Regions from separate parts of the Homo sapiens genome. Here all the other regions are linked to region 1. Evidence: promoter capture Hi-C in 16 types of primary human blood cells and fetal thymus (Javierre and others, 2016). All regions are on one chromosome and are shown on one strand. Each heading gives the region's core, a stretch centred on a gene start or on the middle of the fragment in contact. The rest is flanking DNA. Distances are from core to core; before and after follow the strand shown.

Evidence for each region. The method cuts DNA at HindIII sites, captures the fragments that hold promoters and counts their contacts. A CHiCAGO score of 5 or more calls a contact.
Region 2: a fragment that was not itself captured here is called in contact with the fragment with the promoter of PEBP4-AS1 in region 1 in 6 of 17 cell types (endothelial precursors, M2 macrophages, M1 macrophages and 3 more); the score reaches 9.8 in endothelial precursors.
Region 3: a contact is called between a fragment that was not itself captured here and the fragment with the promoter of PEBP4-AS1 in region 1, in 6 of 17 cell types (M1 macrophages, M0 macrophages, megakaryocytes and 3 more). The highest score is 7.8, in M1 macrophages.

Annotation. Positions count from the first base shown.
Region 1 is chr8:22,875,713-22,880,335 of GRCh38, forward strand. PEBP4-AS1 (PEBP4 antisense RNA 1) reads left to right here and starts at 2,260. Exons shown (of 4, transcript NR_125433.1): 1 at 2,260-2,439. All of the region lies in intron 3 of PEBP4 (phosphatidylethanolamine binding protein 4), which reads right to left. RefSeq lists a silencer at 1,843-1,912. The HindIII fragment of the contact is 10,906 bases long and covers 1-4,623 here.
Region 2 is chr8:22,644,759-22,649,381 of GRCh38, forward strand. BIN3 (bridging integrator 3) reads right to left here. Exons shown (of 9, transcript NM_018688.6): 2 at 1-45. Among named protein-coding and RNA genes, the nearest start is that of BIN3-IT1, 4.9 kb to the left of the region's middle. The HindIII fragment of the contact is 5,709 bases long and covers 1-4,623 here.
Region 3 is chr8:22,661,860-22,666,482 of GRCh38, forward strand. All of the region lies in intron 1 of BIN3 (bridging integrator 3), which reads right to left. Among named protein-coding and RNA genes, the nearest start is that of BIN3, 5.0 kb to the right of the region's middle. The HindIII fragment of the contact is 230 bases long and covers 2,315-2,544 here.

The sequences.
Region 1 (4,623 bases), core at 1,010-3,509:
GGCCCCAGCCTACCCTTCCTGCCTGTCACCCAGCACGTCACCCACCCGCACTGTCCAGAAACCCGGCGAAGTCTCAAGCCACACTTCTACTTGCACCCTGGTCTTTCCAGATCTTGGTATTGCATTGAGTCTTCCTTCTACCGGCAATGCTCTTTCTAGATTTAGAATTTTTAGCTTCAAGATTCTGCTCAGATGTCACCTGTTCTTTTTTTTCTGAGGCAGACTCTCACTCTGTCGCCCAGGCTGAAGTGCAGTAGTGTGATCTTGGCTCACTGCAACCTCAGCCTTCCAGGTTCAAGTGATTCTTGCACTTCAGCCACTGGAGTAAGCTGGGATTACAGGTATGCACCACCACACATGACTTATTTTGGTACTTTTAGTAGAAATGGGGTTTCGCCATGTTGCCCAGGCTGGTCTAGAACTCCGGGCCTCAAGTGATACACCAGCCTCAGCCTCCCAAAGTGCTGGGATTACAGGTGTGAGCCACTGGGCCTGGCCGACAGATGTCACCTGTTTTGCAACCACTTCTTCCCTTATTACCGCAGCTGCTAACACGTACCATGCGTACAACGGTGGCGTGTCTACTGGCTCTGCCAGCCTCCTCTAGGGTGGAGATCAGATCTCAGCACTTTCTGCATCACCAGTGCATACGGCCCATGGTGAAATTAACAGCATCCAGTGTGTGTTGAAGGACTGAAAGGATGAACCACCCAGAAGAGACAGTATCCAGCGTATTCTTCCAGTGCTCAGGATTTTCTTTTTGGCCTCATTCCAGGAGAGGGTTGGCAGGACAATACTTGGGAGCACTTGAAAAGCAAGAAACTCAGGAGAGAGGTCACCATCCAGTGATGAAGGCACTACCAGTGATGACATGTTCTGTCTCTACCTCAACTTGCAGCCCAGGGGCACCTCACAAACGTGCTTCATCGATGACAGTGTATGTTTATAGCGCTTGTGTTGTTGTGAAAATAAACAGCACTTGAAGTGTAAAATTAGAAGTAAATAAATGAGTTAGGAATTATTTTCTCCACTGTTTAAACAAAGCTACTTCTCAGGTGGGACATTAGCTTCCTTGGAGCAAAGCCAAAATCTGGCTTGGTTAGCCAGAAAATGTAAACACATTTCTGTTAATGTTCAGGGTAGAAAGGAGAACCTCTCCCTTAACTGCTGTGTGAGGCTGGACTAGTTATTCAACCTCTCTGGGCCTTGGACCCTTATCTTTAAAATGAGGCTAATAGTGCCTCCTTCATTAAGTCTTTGCCAGGACTGAAATGTACATTTCATAGCATGATGCTTGGATCAGAAAAGCACTCCATATATATTAGCTATTTGAATTATGATTTGGGTTTCAGGGAGTTTATTCCACCCTTATAAACATATCAAGTGGACACCATGTTTTGGTCTTTTCTTTCCTCCTCAAACCAGGCTGTGCTGAATGGGAATCCTCAAACAGCCCTCAGCCTCAGGGATAAGGTGTCCCAGCCATTTCTACTGTAATGGCTAAGAGCCCTTTTTGTCCAGTCTCTCCCTGTCCTCAGTTGTCCAGGTGAGGACAGCTGACTTTGGAATAGAAAGATGATGGGGCTACGTGTCCTTATTGTGAATCAAAACGTCAGGTCCATGTTTTGATTCTGAGGTCAGAATCAAACCAACCTCCTGGTTGGTTGGCAGGTCCTTGGGACTTTTGTGCCTTCAAAATGTCAGGTTATTTGCCCTGACTCCAGTAGCCCAGCACGACCCAAGTACTACATTCTTGGGCAGAGCCAGCCAGAGCCAGGAGGCACTGACTTTGTCTCTCCGTAGCCAAATGGCTGGGAAACTAGCTGGGAGGAGAGGAGGTGAGGCCAGCAGCTTGTGAACACACGGGCGGGCTCACTGTTGGCAGCGGGGAGGAGGCTCCTGGGCTGGGCTGAGCCCAGCCACCCTCACCCCAGGGGCCCACCACCCCACCTCCCCACCTCCCCCTCCTGTTATGAAACCCACGGGGACAACCACACATGTGGGCAGCCGGGGGCTTTCCTCGAATTGACAACAGCTTCTCGCTGTCGCTCGGCAGAACATGAGCTGCTTACATAAACACTGCCTCAGAGACACCTGCAGTGTGGGACGCAGGGAGTCGGAGGAGGGTGGAGGGAGAGGCAGAAAGCTGCAGGGTGAGAGAACGGCTCCCCACCCCACCATGGAGGGGCCGTCTGTGCATCCATACACTGCACACGCGTGCGCAGACACACACACACACACACAGACACACACGAAGTTGGTTACTTTCTCAGCTGTAACCAGGAGGCAGGGAAGAAGGCAATGCAGTCCTCATTCTTTAGAGACTCAACCTGTGTCCCCAGCCCTCCCCACCTCCTCCCACACCCCCCTCCAAACTCAGCTTGGCTGGGAAAGGAAACTCCCCAGTCTGCTGTGCTCCTGCAAGCTGAGTGTTTGCAGGTGAATCTACTCCAGGTACAGGAGCAGCTCCTGAGGGAAAGGGGGTGGAGGGTGAGCATGGAGAGGGAGGGGGAGAGGGAGGGAGGGAGGGAGGGAGGGGCGGAATCCCTGGAATTTAAGGTTAGAGAATATAGTAGGGGACTGGCCTGGTAAGATGGTATTTGGGGGCCTCTACGGAAAACACATCCTGCAGGTCAGACCAGCATGGGCTCTGCGGGAGAGGGTGGAGGGTCAGTGCATGCTCAGTGGGAGGGCTCTGAGAGGTGGCAGGACCCGGCCGTGTGGCAGTGGCCTTGGGTTTCCAAGTGGTGCTTTCTCACTTTTCTGCCCGTCAGTTTACCTGACACACCAAGTGACTGAGATTGCTGCCTGTGAGTTACCCTATTGCTCATATCTAATCACAAAGCGCAGACAGGTGGGGAGGGCTTCCCTCTCCGGGCCTGGCACCTCTGGGTTTGGGTACTCTGGCCTCCTTCCTCTGGGATGCTCACTCGGACTCTGCTACTGGCCAGCCTGAGCAAGTCGGCAGAGCACAGGATCTCCAAACAGGGGTGCATTCCCTGGCTTCATCAGAGAGGAGGCTTGGAGCTCAGGGAACAGAGAGCAAACTGGATGTCTAGGCCAAGCTGGATGCCAAGGGGAAAATAGCCCTCCTTTTGAAAGTATTCTTGCATTTTAACTGTCATCACAGTTAAGCCACCACGGGCAGACCCTGGAGGCTGGAAGAGGGCATCCAGAATGATGTTGGGCTGGTTTCTTATCACAGAGCACCGGGTAGGGGGATGAGCTAAAAATTATAGTTCTTGTTCCCAGCTTAGCGTGGCTATGGGGCGGGTGGTATCTCCTCTGTGTTCCTTCATCTCTTTAGAGACTGAAAGAGAGGACAAGCCCTTCCCCATGGGAAACATTTTACTATGCTCTATCCTAATCTCATCTCAGAGCCCACTCACAGTGAATAGATCTCAGCTAGGAAGGGAAGCAAATATCCCCAGTGACGATGAAGACCAGACATGGAGGTTTAACTGATCTGTGTGAGGCCACAGAACGAGAGTGTGGCCTCAACGCTCTCAATGTTGACAGAACAGCACTCAACATATTGCATTGCGACATGTCTGCTTCTGGACTGCCTATCCCACCAGGCCGTGAGCGCCCCAGAGGTGGGAACTATATCTTAGTCACCCTTGTACTTTCAAGCCTCACAATGGGACCTGCCGAAAAAAGGGCACTCAGTAAACGTCTTGTGAACGCATGAATTGGTGAGTAGCAGAGATGAGATTTCAAGCCAGTGGGGAGAGAAGAACACCTCTCAAAAGGAATGTTGACTCCAAGAAACATCAAAAGAGGGAAAGAACCTTGAGATTTTCCAATTCCAGCTCTTCAATCTACAGAAGCAACTGAGGTCCAGATAGGATAGATCACAGGCTCATTCCCATATAGCTAATTGGAGGCAGAGCCAGGACTACCACCGGGCTATTGTCACCACGTTATCCCACGAGGGTCGAGGGTCGGGGAGGACAGGGAGCCTGCCCAGGGGTGCTTCACACCGGGGGAGGTGTGATTTCAGGCCTTAAGGCACACACACGCTTGAAAATAAAACTGTGTAATTCAACAAACATCTGCAGCAGCAATGCAATTATCTCTGAGATCTAAGCATTGATCGATGGGAGTTTTAATTACCAAAATTTCTCCATCCTCTTCCACAGAAGAAAAAAATTTTCTGGTGTGTTTATTTCATGGCAAAATATGGTAAGATTCTATGGCACACAGAGGGGTATGTTGCATTTGGGAAAAGGGTGTTAAGCACCATTTTTGTTGTGGCGGTTGTCTCCGCAGATGAAAATATTGTTCCTTTTGATCTCTCAGACTGAAAAGTAGATTGCCACATGCATCCAAATTTGGCTTCAAGTGGGAATAGCTCTACCCAAAGTGGGGCCTGAGCAAGGGGATGGGGAGGAGAGAGCCGCCTGGGGCTCTGCCCAGGGCCAGGACCCTGAAAGGAGTGGATGATTGGGAGGGGTGACAAAGCACAGGCACTCGAGCCTAGGGGAGACTCAGCTAGAAGGCGAGACAGCAGCCCTGAGTGGGCCCCACCTCTTCAGTGGGTGCCCATGTGACCTTAGCCACCTCAACTACTGTCCCTGCCATTTACTTCACAGGGCTTTTGTGAGGGTCAAATGACATGAG
Region 2 (4,623 bases), core at 1,530-4,029, 230 kb before region 1:
TTGGGCACAATCTGTTTCTTGGGCTGCCCAATCTTAAAAGGAATCCTATAAGAGAAAGAGACAAAGAGAGATATTGTGAGAAGTGGGGAAGGATGCAGCTCAAAGTATCAGTACAGTACAGGCCACTTTCCCCCAGGAGGGCGAGGAAGCGTGGCCATGGCTTGCTACTTGGACCATGTGCCCTGGTGGGCATACAACCATTGGCATCTGGGCTTGGTTCTAAGAGAGAGATAGGTCCTCCCACCTACAGTGTCAGATGCAGGTTGCTCTGCCCCAGAACATCTTTGCTACTGATAGTCTGTCATTTAAAGAAAATGAAAAGGTGAGGCCAAGGAGTTTGAGGCTGTAGTGACCTATAATTGCACCACTGTTCTCTAGCCTAAGCGACAGAGCAAGACCCTATCTCCAAAAAAAAAAAAAAAAATCCGCTGGGTATGGCAGCTCATACCTGCAATCCCAGCACTTTGGGAGGCCCAGGTGGAGGACTGCTTGAGCCAGGAGTTCAAGACTAGACTGGGCAATATAGCAAGATCCTATCTCAAAAAAAAAAACACAAAAAAACAACCACCAAAAATTAGCCGGGCGTGGTGGCACATGCCTGTAGTCCCAGTCACTTGAGAGGCTGAAGCAGGAGGATCACTTAAGCCCAGGAGTTTGAGGCTGCAGTGAATTATGATCATACCACTGCACCCTAGCCTGGGCAACAGAGGGAGACCCTGTCTTTTAAAGAGATAAAGGAAGGGAACAGAAGGGAAGAAAGGGGAAGGGGAGGGGGAGGAAAGGAAAGGAAAGGAAAGGAAAGGGGAAGAGAGGAAAGGCGAGGATGGCAGGAAAGGGAAGACACCCGCGAGGATGGCAGGAAAGGGAAGACACCCTGTGAATGACAATAAAACCTTGTGTCTTGAGGAGGTGCAAACTCAGAAATTACAGACTCACTGTAATAGCTATCATCCTTGAAATCACGAATCATTATGGTCTATATTAGGTGCTTTGCTACTTCTCTATAGAGGGGCAAACTTTGGATCTGCAAATCTTCTTTGGAGGCTGGGGAGAGTTAATAAATAACAGAGGCATTAGTGATTGGCCGGGCTGGATTATTTCCCTGGGAAAACTCACAAAATCAAAAAGCTGCTAACTTGGAAAATAATCTGAAATCCAGCCCAAGTCTGCCTTGGACTTGCTATGAAGAGCTGCACCTCAGATTCCCTACTTTACAGCATGGCACAGCGGAAGGAGGATCATGGGTCTAGGAGTCTCAACCTGAGCATTAGCCTGGCCTCCGCTTCCACTGAGCAGGCTGCCCTTCGGCAGGTGACGGCTGCACTGGGACTCCATTTCCTGCTGCATAAAACGAGTAGATTAAACTAGGTAATTTAGGAGCTTCCTTGAGGCACTGAGCATTCTATGATTCTCCAACTCCAGGAAGAAAAGAGGCCAGGCTAGAAAGTGCATCCCAATGGCTATGGAAAGGGTAGACTCCCGATCCCAGGTAGGAAGTGAGTCAAGAATCCCTGCGATCAGCTCCGGCAGAGGGCTCTCAGCCAGCCATGCTCATCCCTCTCCTTTTGGCTCTTCCATTCAAACCTCCCGTTTCCACAATGCACCAGACCCGCTCCACCAGGCCCACATCCCACCCTTCCCTCCACACCCCCTTCTCCCTGAGCCTGCTTTCCTTTGGCCCAAACTGACCAACACACTGTTGCTAAACCCAAGGGTGTAATTAACCACCGATAATGACCCCAAACAGTGATCCAGTGGAGGGGATGGGCCAGCCTGAGTCACAGTGGTTTAAATTTAATTTCTGGAGGACATCCTGTTTATTGTTAACCCAGCCCCATAATTTGGGAGTGTTAACCCTTTGGGGGCTGGCTGATTCGCATCTTCTGTAAACAAATAAATTCTGACTACATAATAACCAGGGAGGAAAGGTAAGGTCTGGAAATGAAAAGGAAAGAAAAAATGAAATTGTTGCTTCCTTTCTCAGACCTAAACAGAAAAGGTTCACGGGGAGATGGGTTCCTTCCCCACACCCTGGTTACTTTTCCCATTCTCAGGGATTACAGCTGACAGACAGGATGGTTTTTGGACAGTGAGCAATTGCCCTCAAGGACCATTCTGGAGACAGTGCAAATGAGGTCCTGGTGGCAAGGACCACTCTGGAGACATTGCAAATGAGGTCCCAGTGGCATTGCAGACAGACAGCCTGTATTCTGTGGGAAGCATGCTGCAGCTGAAAGCGCTCTCGACCCGGTATCAGAAAACGTGGCCTCTGCCTCCGACTCATTTTGTGATTTGAACAAATCTCAATCTCTCTGGAGCCCAGTTTCTTAAACTATAAAACAAAGGAGTTGGAATCCCTTCAGCTTATCTAAAACTGGAATTCTAAACTGAATCTCCACTCCAAGAATATGGGGAGTAGGATGAGAATTCTAAAGAAGTCTCAGAGTGGTCTTCAAAACGATTCTTGGAGTTTAGTACTGTAGACAAGGGACCAAGAATCAGAAACGTAGATTCCATTATTTGTGGTGTGACAGCCTCCCTCTAAACCTTAATTTAGTATCACGGTATTTTTAGAACTGTAAGTTACCATAGAAATTTTTTCCCCAGTTCAACCCTCTCCTTTTGTAGATGAGGAAGCAGATCCAGAAAGGTTCAGTGACAAGCCCAGGGTCACTCTGCTGGCTCACAAGAGAACAAGGAAGAAGCAACCAGCACCCCTGGTGTCCAGCCCAGTTTTCTCTCTGCTACCCACAGTTCAATACTCTTTTCACATGAATTTGTTATAAGTATGTGATGAAAACACCTAGTCTCAAAGTCCTACAGAATTCCAAGGGGCTCATTGTTCTTAAGGGTCTGGAAGTGAATGGGAGGACGTTCGTGCTGAACTGGGTGCTCTGGCACAATAAGAGGTTATGTACACCACGCAGACGGAACAGCTCTTTCCTTGTATTTTCACCACAGTTACTGATGATCACAGAGACCTATCATACTGTTCTGATTATTTTTCAACTCACCTGCTCAAAAGCCCTATTAGAACACTTTAAAAAAATCCTTCACATTTAAAAAGTTTTAAAGAAAAACTGTGAGGCCGGGCGTGGTGGCTCACACCTGTAATCCCAGCACTTTGGGAGGCCGAGGCGGGTGAATCACGAGGTCGGGAGATCGAGACCATCCTGGCTAACACGGTGAAACGCCGTCTCTACTATAAAAAATACAAAAAAAAAAAATTAGCTGGGCATGGTGGCGGGCACCTGTAGTCCCAGCTACTCAGGAGGCTGAGGCAGGAGAATGGCATGAGCCTGGGAGGCAGAGCTTGCAGTGAGCCGAGATTGCGCCACTACACTCCAGCCTGCGCGACAGAGTGAGACTCCGTCTCTCAAAAAAAAAAAAAAAAAAGGAAAAGAAAAATTGTGAAGGAAGTACATAATTCCTATGTTGCCCACCCTCAGTTTCCCCTTTTATTAACATCTGATATTGGTGTGGTACATTGGTCACAAACAATGAACCAACAGTGAGAGTCAAGACTATCCTTTCTTCAGACCTCCTCAGTTTTCCCCATGTCCTTTCTCAGTTCCAGCATCCCACCCAGGTCCCCACGTCACCTTCAGTCACTATGTGCCCCGAGGCTCCGCTTGGCTGTGACAGTTCCTAAATCTCTCCCTGCTTTTGATGACCATGCCAGTTTTAAGTGCTGGTCAGGCATTTTACAGAATGCCAACTTGGACTTGTCTGATGCTTTTCTCCTGACTAGACTGGAGTTATGGCTTTTGGGGTAGAAGATCACAGAGCAGAAGAGCCATCCTCACCACATCATACCCAGGGTCCACGATGTCAACATGCCTTACCCTGCTGATGTGAACCTTGATCACCAGGCTGAGGTCATCTTTCTCAGCTTCCTACTGTGAAGTTACTCTCCCTTCTCCCTTTCCCTACTGCACTCCTTGGGAGGAAGCCATCATGCAGAATCCTATTTCTTATTTATTCAACCATTCAATATCAGTATGGACTCACAGATATTTATCTTATATTTTGGGTTATAATCTAATACATTATTTTGATGCTCAAACTGTTCCAGCTTTCACCACTGGCAGCTCTTTCAGTTGGCTTCTGTGTCCCTTTGACATATCCACATCAACGTATGTATGTATGTATGTATGTATGTATGTATGTATGTATGTATGTAAGTGTGTGTGTGTATTTCCTTACTTTCCAGCTCTACGACATGTACCAAGTGCATCTTGTACATTTCCTGCCTCAGCCCTAGAATCAGTGGAGGAACTTACATTAGTATTCAATGTGCTTCTGTAATATGTTCTCAACCTTACTTTTCCTATTCACTCAGTACAACTGCCATGATTCAGCCAAGTGGCTGTTCATTAATCCCCCAAATCTAGACTCCTTATAATTTCCTGTCCCAAACTGGGACATTTTGGAGTACACGTCATCAGGACAACTTGGACTGCCCAGGGCAACCAGGACAAATGGCTACCCCACCTATATGGAATGCTTTCTCTGCTCCCAGGAAAACTTCTCACCTTCTTCTAAACGTCAAAGACTTATTTGGCATTTAAAAAATTCTACCCTTTACAGTTAATTACAGTTTATCTCCTTAAAAAGTAAAGT
Region 3 (4,623 bases), core at 1,180-3,679, 210 kb before region 1:
AGCTCACTGCAATCTCCACCTCCCAGGTTCAAACGATTCTCCTGCCTCAGCCTCTTGAGTAGCGGGGATTACAGGTATGCACCACCACCATGCCCGGCTAATTTTTGTATTTTTTAGTAGAGACGGGGTTTCACCATGTTGGTGAGGCTGGTCTTGAACTCCTGACCTCAACTGATCTGCCCGCCTCTGCCTCCCAAAGCGCTGGGATTACAGGCGTGAGCCAACACGCCCGGCCCATAACATATCATCATGTAAAGACATCACAATTTATTTCCCCATTCTCCAGAGGCTGGGCATCTGCACATGACGATGCCCCTCACACTCCTGGCATGTGTCCCCTGCTGCATGGAGGTATGGGAGTTTCTCTAGGGTAGGGGACAGCCACTGTTCCAACTCCAAAATCTCCAATATACACCCCCTCCTGCAGTGTATGTGAATTCCTACTATTCCTCACCCTCAGATACTTGGCATTGTCAGGCTTTAAAATTTCTGCCAGTCTGATGGCTGTGAAACAGCATCTCATTGTTGGTTTAATCTGTTTTTCCTGATTACTAATAGGACCAAACATCTTTACATGAGCTTTTGTTCACTTGGGTTTTCTTTTCTGGAAAGCAATTGACAGTTTTCAAATCTATGGAATAAGTTCTTATAAAGAACTCAGCCAGTGTTCTTTACAGCTGCCCCTTCTGTTATTTTTTATTAACCCAGTGAAACAACCAAATACACAAGTAACCCTATCTTCAGTTGCTGGAGTCAAAGGTGTTAGCTTATCGTCTGAGTATTTGTAATGATACTCTTAGACAGATGGTTTTCAAACTTGAGGTCTTTGCAGAACATCTATCACTCAAAGGTCATTTAAACTGCTACACAGTCTTCCATTATATACATAGATCAAAATCAGTCATGAAATTAAAAAATCATATGCACTCACCTCAGGAAGAAAAAAAGAAAAAAAAAGTCAACTGAGGTGGGTCATTCTTTAAAAAAACAAACAAGGCTGGCCGCGGTGGCTCATGCTTGTAATCCCAGCACTTTGGGAGGCCAAGACGGGTGGATTACTTGAATCCAGAGGTTAGAAACCAGCCTGGCTAACATAGCGAAACTCAGTCTCTACTAAAAAATGGTGGTGCATGCCTGTAATCCCAGCTATCTGGGAGGCTGAGGCACGAGAATCGCTTCAACCCGGGAAGTAGAGGTTGCAGTGAGCTGAGATGGCACCACTGCACTCCAGCCTGGGCAACAGGGCAAGAGCCTGTCTCAAAAAACGAAAAACCATGAACAAGAACATAATAGAAAATATCAGAGTGCATTGCACACATACTGTGTCAAACTTTTATTTCAAGTATAAGTGTGTGTGTGTGTGTGTGTGTGAGTTGTGATATCAAAGGTATTTCTAACTGTGAGTTGTGTTCAAAAAATTGTGGAAACTAGTCCAGGTGTGGTGGCTAACACTTATAGTCCCAGCCACTCAGGAGGCTAAGGCAGAAGGATTGCCTGGGCCCAGGAGTTTGAGACTGTGGTGAGCTGTAATTGCACTACTGCACTCCAGCCTGGGCAACAGTGAGACCCCCCGATTTGTTTAAAAAAAAAAAAAAAAAAAAAAGGAAACTATTGTCCAAGTTAGCATCCTTGGCTCCATTTTTTCTCTTCTGAGTTATCCTGCAGGCCACTGCCAAAATAATCTGACTAAATCATTGCTTTGGCCATGCCACTTCCCTGCTCAAAAGCCTTCAATTTCCAAAAGCCTAGGCTCAATTTCAAGTCCTCAGCATGGCACTGAAAGCACTATATAACGTGGCCCTGAGGTGGAGTGCCAATTCTCCCCAATGCAGCCTCTACCCAAACCACTACTTACCACCTCCAAGCTGGCCTCCTGACAGTCCGCACAAACACTCTTGACGCATTCTGACTCCACACACCTTTTTCATGCCATGCTTCTTACCTGGATCCTTCTCTCCCTCCCACTGAAACAGCACGTATTTGCTAAGTCAAGGTTCAGTTAAAATTACATCTGCTTCAAGTCTTTCTTGATGATGCCATACTGACATTTAGTGATCGGCTGTCCTTTTGAATCCCTAGCACTTTCCATACACCGGCTGAAGATAGAGATCGACTCATGCAAGTCTTTTAAATGTTCCTCAACATTTAGCACAGACTTTTGCACATTATAAATGTTGAACAAGCATTAAATCAACAAATATTTGTTGAGCACCATGTATGTGCATCACACTATACTGGGCCCTATTTGATGGATTAGCCACCAAAATCATGAGTTTGGGAAAACAATTCTAATAGGTTTAACAGCTGACTCTAAAGCTTACTCCGACAGATTTCCTTAAAGAGTATAATACATATAACACCTCTGACTAAGTAGCTGTGGGACTCAAGACACTTGACTCTTTCTGACTGCTCCAAGATCTGGAAGAAATCCTTCTCCTCTCATTAAACGCCTGAAATAAGAGCAAGCTCACATACAGAATCTCACAGACATTTTATAGGGCCCCTGTCTTCAAGGCATTACTATGCTCTCCACAGAGGAAGAAAAGCTTGGTGTGTCCAAAGTCACAGAGGACATGAGTGATGAGGCTGCCTTAGGCAGGGGCCCCATAGGTGGAAGAAGCTGAGCCAGTTACAGAACACCTAGAGGTCTGCAGGACACAAGGACTTCCTCTATCACTTATGTGTGAAGACTGTCAACTCCCTGTGATTCACTACCAACCTGCTAGTGTCAACACACCTTAGCAAAGTGAAACTCCGTGATCCAATCAGCTTGGGAATGGTCTGCTACTCTTCTAATATTCCTGATCATGGGGACAGAATACTCAGGAGACACATTTTAGTTCTAGTTCTTCCAGGTACTAGCTGAGTGAATTCTAGTAAGTTACCAAGGGGGATCATAAGACTGCACTGCTTGCGCAGACATAAGCATGAAGTCAGACAAAGGACGGGAAAGCCATCTGAAAAGTTAGAAGCACTCTACACATGTGAGACAGCAACGGTAATCATAGGGGAAAGGACTTCACTGAGAAAAAAACTGAATAATGGTTTTGTTTGACCCAGAAGTTTACCTTCTTTATATTCCATTCATTTAACAATTACCTGTTAGATACCCACTATGTGCATGATACCCACTATGCGTACAAAAAGATGAAGAAGCTCTATGTCGCTCCTGTTCTCATGGGGTTGGTGTGGAAGGGAGGTGTACGTCTGTGATACTCAGAAGGATGCAGAAGTGCTACAGGAGAAGCACTATGGAAGTACAGAAGAAACCCAGCAAAGCACTTTGGAGTGGAGGATCAGAAGGAGTGGGGAGGAGAAATCACAGGCAGCCTGACCTGGAAGCCACTTGTGTCGGTCAATTTAACAATAGTACTTTCAGAGGCTCTTCATTTTAGGAAGTGGTTTGTAGGTTCTGCAAGTTTTTATCTTAACATTTTTCCTGAGCTGAGGCAAGTCAGGAAAAGGGAAAAAAGGCCCCATTCATATATTTAATAAACACTTCCTGACTGCCAGGAACAGTGCTAGGGAATAGCAATGACCACAAGACAGTCCCCATACTCAAGAACTCACAGACAAGTAAACCAGCCAGCGGAGTACAGATGCTGATGAAGGTCAGAAGAGCGGCACCCAGTGCAGCATGGCAGGGTGTGAGGGGCCACTCAGGGAAGACCCTCAGAGAAGGTGAAGCGTGGCCTGACTCTTGAAGGATGAGTAGATGCTGGCCTAGTGGACAGGGTGTGAGTGAAGGGGAAACATTTCAGGCAGAAGGGACAGTTATCCAGAGGCACATGGGCACGAGAGAGCAGGAGAAGCTTGGAGGATGGAACACACGGAGTGAAGATGGACAGCCAGGCCCAGAGGGCCTCAGAAGCCCTGGCCCAGAGTTGGGCCTCTATCCTGAAGATGATGGCAAGGGACTACAGGGTGAAAACAGGAAAGAAACAAAAAGGATCAAACATGAGGAACACCAAAGTGTGAAGGGCAGACAGAGGTAGAAGACCCCGGAAGAGTCAGAAAAATATCACTCCACTCATTTCACAGCAGGCTCAGGTGGCAAATTGTCAGCAGGAATGGCCACTCCATGCTACAGATGGAGAAACTAAGACAGAGAACAGCTCAATGCTTGACCAGGCCGCACTGTGAGTGGCTGAGCCAGAACCTGAACGCAGCACTCTAACTCCTACTCACACTTACCTGCTCTGCCTCTAATTTCCTTCCTTTTTGTCAAACTACTGGACCCCTAGGTATAGGGAGATTTCTTCCAGTACTCCCTTTTCCTCCTCGTTTAAGCCTAAAATCATCAAGGTGTATGGTTCAACAGGAGGCTACAATTCCTGGAGCCAGCTTAGATTGAGGTCACTATTCTTAATTCTACTTAATCCTCTCTCCATACCATAATAAAGCCACCTGAGTATACACTGGAAGATGGGGAAGAGAGACAGGAAGGGGAAAAGGGAGACAAGAGGGAGACAGAAATAGGGAGGGAGGGGGTGAGTGGGGAGGAGAGGAGAGAAAGTTGGGAGGGGGGCAAATGGCGGGGGGAGGTGGGGTGGACAATGGGAGAGAAAAAGAGAGCGAGAGAGAGAGAAGCATTTGGCTTGAGGCCAAGAAGTGAATCTGTGA